4 separate regions of the Homo sapiens genome follow, and all the other regions are linked to region 4. The links are contacts of gene promoters, found by promoter capture Hi-C in human tissues and cell types (Jung and others, 2019). All regions are on one chromosome and are shown on one strand. Each heading gives the region's core, a stretch centred on a gene start or on the middle of the fragment in contact. The rest is flanking DNA. Distances are from core to core; before and after follow the strand shown. Region 1 overlaps LINC03033 (long intergenic non-protein coding RNA 3033). Region 2 overlaps MNAT1 (MNAT1 component of CDK activating kinase). Region 3 overlaps MNAT1 (MNAT1 component of CDK activating kinase). Region 4 holds the start of TMEM30B (transmembrane protein 30B).

Region 1 (2,700 bases), core at 14-2,513, 360 kb after region 4:
CTGTCTAGCCCTTACACATGATTCAGGATTTCCCTTTTTGGTATCCTTTACAAATGATCATGCAACTTTGATTTAAGCAACTGACTTTACTGAAACCAAAGTTGCATGATCATTTGTAAAGGATTTGTCTGACTGTCTTGTCTGTTTCCTTCACCAGCTTATAAACTGAATGAGAAAAGAGGCCACGTTTCTTGGGTTCACAGTTATTTCCCCAGAACCTGATAGAGTACCTGTAAGCATGAAGGTTCTCAATATGTATTTTTTGGGGGGACTTTTGGTGGTGGTGGCTGTTGTTAAAACTACTTTATTGAGATATGATTGTCATACAAAAAGCTGTACATATTTAATGTATACAGTTTGATGAGTTTGGAGATGTGTTCACCCATGTAAATATGTGTTTTTGAATGAATGGGTGAATGAATGAGCAACTTTGGTGACAGGAAGATGTAGAAACTAGGTAAGAATTAGAATGGTTAACAAGAGTTATTCCAGTGGTTACTCTTCCATTTGGGGCAGCTCTAATTTCATGTTCCTCTTTATACAGTTGCTTATTTTGTTCCCTAGGTCACTCAGAGTGAGTCTAGCCCTTCCTCTATGTGAAAATTTATTTCAAATACAAAGAGAACTGTTGTGCTCCCTAAGTCTCCTCCTCTCTGGCTAAGTATCTTCATTTACTTTAACCACATGGCCTGTTTTAGTCCTGTTTTAGAAATGCATCACAATTCTAGTTGTTCTCCTTTCATTCACTCAACAAATATTTATGAGCATCCACTGAGTGCTCTGTACCAGGGCTCTGTATGCAGTAGGGGGAAAAAAGAGACATGCACTTGCCTTCCACCTCATCAGTGTTCCTCTGAAGTTATTAAACATAGCAATCCCCAGAACTAAGAAAAGCAGATGCCCCTTCCTTTGTACTGGGTATGTTCTCTTTTACTACTACAGTATATCTAAATAAGAGATACTGGTTCTTCCACTTGCTTTTTTGCAGTACTAGATGTGGTATTTCTTGTTGTTTGTACAGCCATGGACCATGAATTAAGTGTGACTTTTCTTTTGGGTACAAGAGCATATATACATAGAAGGATATAGATGGTATGCACAACACAACCATCTACATTCATCCATCCCTTACAAATAGAATACGTGTTTGCACTCTTTGATAAAGGTAATGCAATGCTCAGAAAAGCGCCCCAGCATCTAGAGGAGCAGGGTGTTTTTCAGGCATCTGTGAGAAACAGATGCTCTGTCAAGCCAGGGACAGGGGCTCAGGTTACATCCTGTGTTCAGTGAAGCACATCAGAATCATTTGCCTAGTACAGCCTCAAGTAATTGTTTTATTTCTTATTCTTCTATTATTTTATGCATTTTTTCTACTTTTAATAATGAAATAAACCCATAATAAAACAAAAATAATTCAACAAAACTGATGGGATTTTTTTTTTTCATTGCAAATGTCTGTTTAACTAATTTGTTCACTAATGGAGGCTCCCAAGCTTCAGAAAAGATATTCTCCTTTAAGGGAACACAGATGTTTGACTTAAAATTCCATATTTGTGACATTTCAATATTGGTATCCTCATTTTTTTTTTACTAATGAAATTGTAAGAAAACAAAATCTGCTTGTCCTACAGCAATTTGGCTGTGATTCAAAAACTTTTTATTAAAATGAAGTAATATGTTCTGCAAATCTAATTGCAGAGGAATTAGACACACTAAACCAAATAGTCATCTGTGATACAAAATGAAATAAACTAGAGAAAAACCATTTCAGGAAATAGACAGTAGAAAGAGGTTCTAAGGAATGGCTGTCTGCTTCTATTGTGATCATTTCTGTGTTCAGTTTTGATGTTTTTTAATGAAATATTTTAACCTTAGACCTCATTTTCTTTATTTTCCTTTTTGCCCTGTCTTATGGTATGATCAGACCTCATTTTTAAATGACACATTTATTTCACTAACATTGTACTTATGTAGTTGAAGTGAATGGATTAGGATCATTGACCAACTTAATTGTATATAAATGCAAATGACAATATATCTGTTGGAGTTATAATAATGGTTAGAAAATAGGGAAGAATGACAAGAGAAGTTTAGTGGAAGGTGGGTATGGACATAACGAGAGTGCATGGGTAAAACTAGCCAAAATTGTTTGGCTGCTTTAATTTGCCTCAGTCTTCAACTTTAAATAAGAAGATTTAATCAATTAGATTACTTGCAGTATAACTATTTCAATTCTCCAAACACCATTAGGTTATCTGTTCTTCGGGCCAAATTCAATGCCACGTACAAGGTAAATGCTGAATATTTGCAGAATGAATGAATGAACTAATGGACAAATAAATGCCACACTTCTTCCTTTTTTTTTGTCTTGATAGGAGTGTAGGTCAGTAAAGACCTCAAAGTTCTGATGCCTGTAATCGAGATACAAACATTTGACTCAACTAATAGAGAACTATCTTTTGCATTAGAGTTATAAACAGAACACTAGATGAATTTTCATATTATTCTTCTCTAGTAAAGACATTAGGTCACAATTAGCATTTACTTGAAATGTTTGTATATTTAAATTTCTCTATATATTTATATTATTAAATTGTTGTGACTAGAATGTAGTTTTATTTATAAATGGTTTCCAAACTATACTCTAGCCATGATCAGTTGGATAATTCAGTGTTTTTATAACTGATACCAATCATTGCA
Region 2 (2,700 bases), core at 28-2,527, 340 kb before region 4:
TCTCTGCCACGTGAGGACACAGATAGAAGGCCAGGAAGAGAGCCCTCGCCAGCAACCAAATCAGCCAGGACTTCCTAGACTCCAGAATTATGAGAAATAGACTTCTATCGTTTAAGCCACTGAGTGTGTGGTATTTTGTTATAGCAGTTGAAGTAGACAAATAGACTATTACCATATAGCTTTAGAATCAAACATTTAATGTTAAATCCTACCCCCATAGTACTGGTCTCAGGAAAGGTATGTGGCCTGTTCAGGGTTGTTATAAATTATCAGGAACAATATACAAGAAGTGCCTAAATTATAAAATTTTATAAACTTATAAAACTTCAAATTGTCAAGATTTTGGTAAGCGAGGCACTTTAATTTCACTTTCTAGAACTCATAATTTTCTAGGAGAAATTATCTCTGGTTTTAATTTTTATTCCATTTTATTGTCTGAATTATTCATAGATGTACAAATAATGAGAGGACTCAAAGAGTTTTCATGCAAACATAGCTCTTAAAAAGTGTTAACTCTTTGCTCCAAGGAAATAAATATTTAGAAAACTCTTACTGTAAATATGATTATAGCAGTTTCCCAAAGCTAATAAAATATTTCATCAGCTAATGAAAAATTCAGTCAGTGCAATTAAGCAGCTAATGTGAAGACCTGAATCAGAGTTTCAAAGCTACTAAGAACCACTTACCATCATCATGTAGGCTCAAGTGCTTTTCACTCAAAGCTTAGTAGTATACTTTCTTGTTCAAGGTATACTTCAGGGGTTAAGAATATTTCCAAACCTATAGCTTCCTATTGTGTCCCAAAATGTTTTTTTGAGACACAGGCAGCACTTTCAGTTTTTTTTCTAAATCCATCTTTTGAGTCTATAATGTGTCATGATAATCTTTTTATTATGTAAGAGGGGAGTCAGGTAATTTTATCTCTATCCAGAGCCCTTTGCCAGAAAAAAAAAATAGAGCATCTTTATATAAAGGAATTCTAACTATCTATTTTCTTTGTTTTTCTTTGGAATAAATTTGAATACCAAATAGATTCCTTATAGGAATCACTTTACAATATGGGCCCAGTCTCAAAGTTGAATAAATCTTTGGTCATTTTTCTCTGTTACATGAGAGAAGGGCTTAGGCCACTGGGGGCACTTTCTAAAATTCCTTTATAATCACATCTTTTCTTCCTTATGAACACATTAGTATTTTTACTGTTTTAATTATATTAAATACATTAGTATTTTAGTGTTTTCGTTATATTGTGACAATATATAACATTTGAATACAAATAATAATTAGAAATTTTAAAACATGTATGAATTATTGTTAAATTAGTTCTGCCGAGAGAAGCTGGAGAAGATCCCATAAACAACAGATTGGTGCCATTCAGGTATCATTTTGCACACAGATACGGTGGCTTCTTCTCTCACATCCCACAGTGGCTTTCCCACATCATCAGTTTCCTAAATCTCCCACTCCACTTTCCCCTCTTTATACTCAGCAACTAACTTTTCAACATGCTACACAGAGAAAACGTATGTATGAATACATTCTCTCCAAAGCCACACTCTAACTATAAACTCGTCCATACTTGTACACATTGCTAACTCCTTCTGTCCATTCTTATTGGCAGAAAGGCCTGTCCTGCTTTTGAGGCCAGTCCCACCACCTGTGTTCCATGGCCTACTTTTGATTCAACTCAGGGATATTAGACCATCAAATTGGTCTCCCTCCCTCTTTCAGATTGAGATCATCTTCTCTGTGTTGAAATATTTCCTTTACAACATGAACATACTCAAATTTCCATCTTAAAACCACATAGTCGCTTCATCAACCCTGAATCTTCCTCTGACTACTGCTCTTTCTTCCATATTCAATGAAAAACCTTTGAAAAAAGTCTTATACTTGCTCTCTCTACTTCCTTATTTCTGATTCATCCACCAAACCTAGTGGAATTTGGCTTTTACTTAGAATCTGATTTTGCTGATTCACAATCGACTTGCTAATTACAAAATTTGGTGGGTAACTTGCGGTCCTTTTCTTATTTTACCCTTCTATCGAACCATTCTCTTATTCTTCAAACTGTATCTTTCATTTGCTTTATGACACTACTTCCTTTTTGTTTTTGTTTTTGTTTTTTTTTTCTTCCTCTGATTTCTTCTGAATCCTTTTGGCCAGTTCTTCTTCCTCTGCTAAAGTTATTGTGTGAAGTCATTCCTTGACCTTTTGTTCTCATTCACTATCACTAATTGAGTACCTGTGTGTATGGTAGGCTCTTTTTTAGGCACTTCTTGTATATCGTTCCTGATAATTTATAACAACCCTGAACAGGCCACATACCTTTCCTGAGACCAGTACTATGGGGGTAGGATTTAACATCAAATGTTTGATTCTAAAGCTATATGGTAATAGTCTATTTGTCTACTTCAACTGCTATAACCAAATACCACACACTCAGTGGCTTAAACAATAGAAGTCTATTTCTCATAATTCTGGAGGCTGGGAAGTCCTGGCTGATTTGATTGCTGGCGAGGGCTCTCTTCCTGGCCTTCTATCTGTGTCCTCATGTGGCAGAGAGACAGCAAGTTTGTTCTCTGGTATCTGTTCTTGTAAGGGCATTAATATAGTCATGAAGGCTCCACCCTCGTGAATTCATGTAAACCTGAATGCCTCACAAAGACCCCATTTCCAAATACTATCACATTGAGAGTA
Region 3 (2,700 bases), core at 51-2,550, 380 kb before region 4:
TTTCCCAGCACCACTTATTAAAGAAGGAATTCTTTCCCCAGTGTACGTACTTGGTATCATTGTTGATTATTAATTGGCCGTAAACATGTGGCTTTATTTCCGGGTTCTCTATTATGTTCCACTGATCTTGTAGAATGAAATTTTTATCTTAATTTCATGTAGAGCTTGTCTTTATACTGCTTTGTGGTAGCTACAATGCTCTATCACAAAGCAATACAAAGATATAGATGCACGTACTTATTTCTGTCTTATGTTGACATAACTGGCATAAGTTCTGTACTATCAATCAGCAAACTTTAAAAATGATTTTTAACTGTGAAGGTTTAATGTCCTGAGTCACAAGACATGATAATATCTATTATTATATCATCAGTAGTGAAAATAATTGTAGTAGTTATGATGATATTGAATTAAGTCAGTTAATTAGAACCTGATGGTAATTAGAAGAAAATTTCTTGCTTGATCTCTATTAGCAGAGAATATCTAACTATTATTATATCATCAGTAGTGAAAATAATTGTAGTAGTTATGGTGGTATTGAATTAAGTCAGTTAATTAGAACCTGATGGTAATTAGAAGAAAATTTCTTGTTTGATCTCTATTAGCACTATTAATTTTGTTTTCTTGTGTGGCCATAGACTGCATTCATAAAAACCAACTTGCTGAGCAAAAGTAATTGATTATCACAAATCTATTACTCTTATTGGCAAAGCAATTAAAAAATCTATGACTCTTGAAGAAATAGAATAGGGTCCAGTTCACAAAAATACAGGTGTACCTCATTTTATTGCATTTCGTTTTATTACTTTTTGCAAATATTGCAAGTATATCAATGCTGTTTTTCCAACAGCATGTACTCACCTCATGTCTGTTTTTCACATTTGGTTAATTCTTACACTATTTCAGACTTTTGCATGATTTTATCTGTGTGGTGATTTGTGATTAGTGATCTTTTGCTGTTACTATTATTATTGTTTTGGTTGCCACAAACTGTACCCGTATAAGAAGGTGAAGTTAATAAATGTGTGTGTTCTGACTGTTCTTCTGACTGGCTGTTTCCCCATCTCTCTCTCTCTCTCTCTCTCTCTCTCTCTCTCTTACCTTGGACTTCCCTATTCCCTGAGATGCAGCAATATTGAAATTAGGCCAATTAATAACCCTGCAGAGGGTTCTGTGTGTTCAAGTGAGAGGAAGGGTCACATGTCTCTCACTTTCAATGAAAAGATAGAAGTGATTAAGCTTAGTGAGCAAGATATGTCAAAAACCAAAATAGGCAAAAGCTAGACCTCTTGTGCCAAACAGCCAAGTTGTGAATGCAGAGGAAAAGTTCTTAAAGGAAATTAAAAGTGTTGCTCCAATGAACACATGAATGTTAAGAAAGCAAAACAGCCTGATTGCTGCTATGGAGAAAGTTTTAGTGGTCTGGATAGATCGAAGAAGCAAGAACAATCCCTTAAACCAAAGCCTAACTTTCTTTAATCCTATGAAGGCTGAGAAAGGTGAGGAAGCTACAGAAGAAAATTCTAAAGCTAACAAAGGTTGGTTCATGAAATGTAAGGAAGGATGCCATTTCCGTAACGTAAAGTGCAAGGTGAAGCAGCAAGGGCTGATGTGGAAGCTTCAGCAAGATCTACCAAGATATTGATGAAGGTGGCTACTCTGAACACAGATTTTTCAATGTAGATGAAACATCCGTCTATTGGAAGGAGATGCCATCTAGGATTTTCATAGCCAGAAAGAAGTCAGCCACTTATGGTAGCTCACACCTCTCATTCCAGGATTTTGGGAGGCTGAGGCAGGCAGATAGCTTGAGCCCAAGAGTTCGAGAGCAGCCTGGGCAACATGGCAAAAAATACAAAAATTAGCTAGGCATGGTGATGGGAGGTAGCTACTCAGGAGGCTGAGGTGGGAGAATCACCTGAGCCTGGGGAGGTTGAGGCTGCAGTGAGCCATGATCATGTCACTGTACTCCAGCCTGGGTGACCCTGAGCTGGAGTGTAGTGATGTGATACAGTGAGAGCCTGTCTCAAAAAAAAAAAAAAAAAAAAAAAAAAAAAAGTCAATGCCTGTTTCCAGAGCTTCAAAAGCAAGTCTGACTCTCTTTTTAGGAGCAAATGCAGCTGGTGACTTTAAATTGAAGCCGATATTTATTTGCCATTTTGAAAATTGTAGGGCCCCTAAAAAGTATGCTAAATCTACTCTGCCTGTGCTTTATAAATGGAATGAAAAAGCCAGGATGACAGTGTGTCTGTTTACAGCATGGTTTGCTGAATATTTGAAGCCCACTCTTGAGACTTACTGCTTCGGAAAAAAGAGATTTCTTTCAAAATACTGCTACTCATTGACATTACATCTGGTCACCTAAGACTTCTGATGGATATGTGCAAGGAAATGGATATTGTTTTCATGACTGCTAGCACAACATCCATTCTAAAGCCCATGGATCAAGGAGTAATTTTGACTTTTCAGTCTTGTTATTTAAATAATATGTTTCATAGTGCTATAGCTGCCATAGATAGTGATTCCTCTGATGGATCTGGATGAAACAAATTGAAAACCTTCTGGAAACAATTCATTACTCTAGAAGCCATTAGGAATATTTGTGCATTAGGAATATTTGTGATCCATGGGAGGAGGTCAGAATATCAGCATTATCAGGAATTTGAAAGAAGTTAATTCCAACCCCATGTTTGAGATTTT
Region 4 (2,700 bases), core at 169-2,668:
GTCTAGCAGCCCCCCAAGAGCAAGGGGGGTAATTCCCTTATCTGGTCCCCTCATTCACAAAGGGAGGAAAAGCTAGGCGAGGTTGGAATTGGGTGACGGGCGAGGAGGAGATGCCAAAAGCACCTTGCAAGAGTTTTGGCAAGAAGCAGGAGGGATCCCTGGAAAGCCGGAATCACTCCTCGTCGTCGTCGTCCTGGTCCTGGTAGCGAATGTAGACGACCAGCATGACAAAGCCGGTGAGGATGCAGAGGGAGCCGACGACCAGGTAGGCGATGCCCAGGAAGGGGTTCTTGCCACCCATCCACGAGATGCTGCTGAAGATGAGGAGCTTGTGGCCGCCGAACGCGCGCACCGGGTAGTTGTAGGTGATGTTGACGCGGTAGGCGCCCCGCGGCAGCCCGGCCGAGTAGTTGCCCTGGCGGATGCGCGCGTACAGTTTGCGGAACGTGGGCAGCGCCGCCGTGCGCATCCACACCACGAAGTCCTGATTGATGAAGCCGGTGTTGTTGGGGTCGGGGCTGAGCTCGTAGACTGGCCGGCGCCAGTTGGGCGGGGGCGCCGTGCCCTGGAAGGCCAACGCCAGGCTGCCGTTGACCAGCGGCGGGTTGCGGAACTTGACGTGGTAGTCGGTCCACCAGGCGATGCCGGAGCGGTCGAGCGGCACCTCGACGTAGGGCCCGCCGGGCTGGCGCTGGTGCCAAAGCGAGAAGGAGTCGTTGAAGAGGCTGTTGGCGATGGCGCCGCAGGGCGCGATGGGCAGGCCGGCCGCGCTGCGCTGGTAGGGGGCGCACTCGTTGACAGGGTGGCGCAGCGCGCTGGGGAGTCCGCTCAGCTGCGCGTCGTCGCGGGACACGCCGTAGCGCCGGTTGTTCTGGTAGAAGTTGGTCAGCTCGTAGTAGAGGTACACTGGGCCCTGGAAGAGCTCGGGCAGCGAGAAGTACCAGGCGCACGAGCAGGGGGGCGGCAGCGCCCGGCCCTGGCCAGCCGCGGCGCACACCGAGCAGTTACCGGTGCCCGGGTCGCCTGTATAGTCGTACTCCAGCTCCTTGATGCCGTTGGAGGAGTAGTAGAGGCCCAGGCCCAGGCCGATGAAGGCCAGGCCCGCGCAGAAGAAGAGCGGCAGCGCGATGCTGGCCGACAGCAGCGGCTGCCAGGCGGGGAGGCGCTGCTGAGTGAAGGCGGTGTTGTCGGGCTGGTGGGCGCCCCGGGCCGTGGCGCTCCAGGTCATGGCGGCCGCGCGGGGACCGACGCGCGGGCTGACCGAGTGGGGGCCCCGCCGCGGGGCGCCTCCCTCTCCGCGCCGCGCAAGCCCGGGGACTGCTCGCGGGTCGGGTTTCCCGCCAGCTCAGGTGGGTTTTTGCCCGGGCCCCTCCTCTGCCTCCGTCACAGGTGAGTTTAGTTCCAGGCCCTACGAGCAGTGCCCACACCCTCCCAGTTCCGCCTCCGCCCAGGTGCGCTGCACCCCCGCGGGTCACCGGGAGCCGCACCTCGCCCGCCCCTTCCGAGGTGAGCAGGTGGGTGTTTTTTACCTCACCTGGTAGACTCAGTCTCGCGTTTCCTCTCAGTCCAGGTCATCGGACTCCACCTCCTCTCCTAGGTGAGTGGCGGCCCCGGGCTGCCTCTGAGTGGCTCCTACCTGGCTCAGGTACCACCTTCTCTTCCGCCTTCCAAGTGACTAGAGTTCCTGGGCCAGTCTCCCGAAATCAAAAGGCGCTCCGGCCTCCAGCAGAAATTTTTGCTGAGGGCTTGCACCGTGGTCCTGGAGGCTTGAAGATTTCAGATCCTTAATCCTCTGTTATTTGCGGGGAAAAGGTGGCTCTAGACCATTTTGTCTTTTAGGTTAGCTTCACAAACCGCTTTCGCCCAGCTTTCAGTCTCAAGTTGGGAGTGTCCAGGGAATTACGTTATGATAAATCTGTTTCGAATTCAACGCCTGCGTTCAAATTTTAGCTTTTTTTTTTTTTTTTTTTTTTTTTTTTTTTAAGGGAAAATGATTTTCTGGCCAGATCACCCAGTCTGGCTGTATAACTAGGAAATGTGGAAAGTTCTCTAAAAATAAAATCATCCTTAAAAAGAATCAAAGGCTGGAGAGGTTCAGAGCCTTTAAATAACTCTTAGCTGGTGTGGAGAAACCAAGAAAGGAAAAAATGTGCTGGACTACATGTGATTTCGTTTTCTTTTCAGATTATTTGCCTGACTAGAGAAAGGCCCAATCCAAGGTCCCAGGAGACCTAGCTGCTATCCACAAAAACATCTGGAGTGTCTGGCCTAAGGAAGTAAACTACAAGGATTTATAGGATTTATTATAAAAAGAACTCAAATTAGCTCCCTATGTTGCCTGGGATTCTGGCTTTTTTTTTTTTTTTTTTAAATCTAGGTTGGTAAAACATATACAAGGGGGTATTGGGACGTTCTGATTTCTTACTAAATCTAAATCTTCCCTAGGTATTGTGTTCTTGCTTCTCCTCCAGCTTGTAAAATGCAAGTAATACAAATGTTTTCTCTATTACACTACACCTAGCATAATATATTATATTCAGGAGTCATTCAAAACCCATTGAACTTGGAAAGTTAAAATCCTTATTAAATTTAACAGAGGAATGTTGTTAGCATCTTCCAAGTGTTCAGTCCTATGCTAATTAGACAAAAAAGGACCTTTGACCTCAAGGCATTTGCAGTTTGATAGGGGACATATTAGGA

What was found. Contacts are between HindIII fragments. The study calls those that stand out against the background at their distance.
Region 1: a contact is called between a fragment that was not itself captured here and the fragment with the promoter of TMEM30B in region 4, in 1 of the 25 tissues and cell types used here (thymus).
Region 2: a contact is called between a fragment that was not itself captured here and the fragment with the promoter of TMEM30B in region 4, in 2 of the 25 tissues and cell types used here (H1 embryonic stem cells and lymphoblastoid cells).
Region 3: a fragment that was not itself captured here is called in contact with the fragment with the promoter of TMEM30B in region 4 in 2 of the 25 tissues and cell types used here (liver and mesenchymal stem cells).

Annotation. Positions count from the first base shown.
Region 1 is chr14:61,643,767-61,646,466 of GRCh38, forward strand. All of the region lies in intron 1 of LINC03033 (long intergenic non-protein coding RNA 3033), which reads left to right. Among named protein-coding and RNA genes, the nearest start is that of HIF1A, 50 kb to the right of the region's middle. The HindIII fragment of the contact is 7,770 bases long and covers 1-2,700 here.
Region 2 is chr14:60,944,411-60,947,110 of GRCh38, forward strand. The region is part of intron 7 of MNAT1 (MNAT1 component of CDK activating kinase); the gene reads left to right. Among named protein-coding and RNA genes, the nearest start is that of TRMT5, 35 kb to the right of the region's middle. The HindIII fragment of the contact is 3,483 bases long and covers 1-2,700 here.
Region 3 is chr14:60,898,986-60,901,685 of GRCh38, forward strand. All of the region lies in intron 7 of MNAT1 (MNAT1 component of CDK activating kinase), which reads left to right. Among named protein-coding and RNA genes, the nearest start is that of TRMT5, 81 kb to the right of the region's middle. The HindIII fragment of the contact is 5,229 bases long and covers 1-2,700 here.
Region 4 is chr14:61,279,920-61,282,619 of GRCh38, forward strand. It overlaps TMEM30B (transmembrane protein 30B), which reads right to left and starts at 1,419. Exons shown (of 1, transcript NM_001017970.3): 1 at 1-1,419. The coding sequence starts at 1,228. The coding sequence ends at 173. It also overlaps a transcript of PRKCH not described here. RefSeq lists an enhancer at 1-844. The HindIII fragment of the contact is 14,970 bases long and covers 1-2,700 here.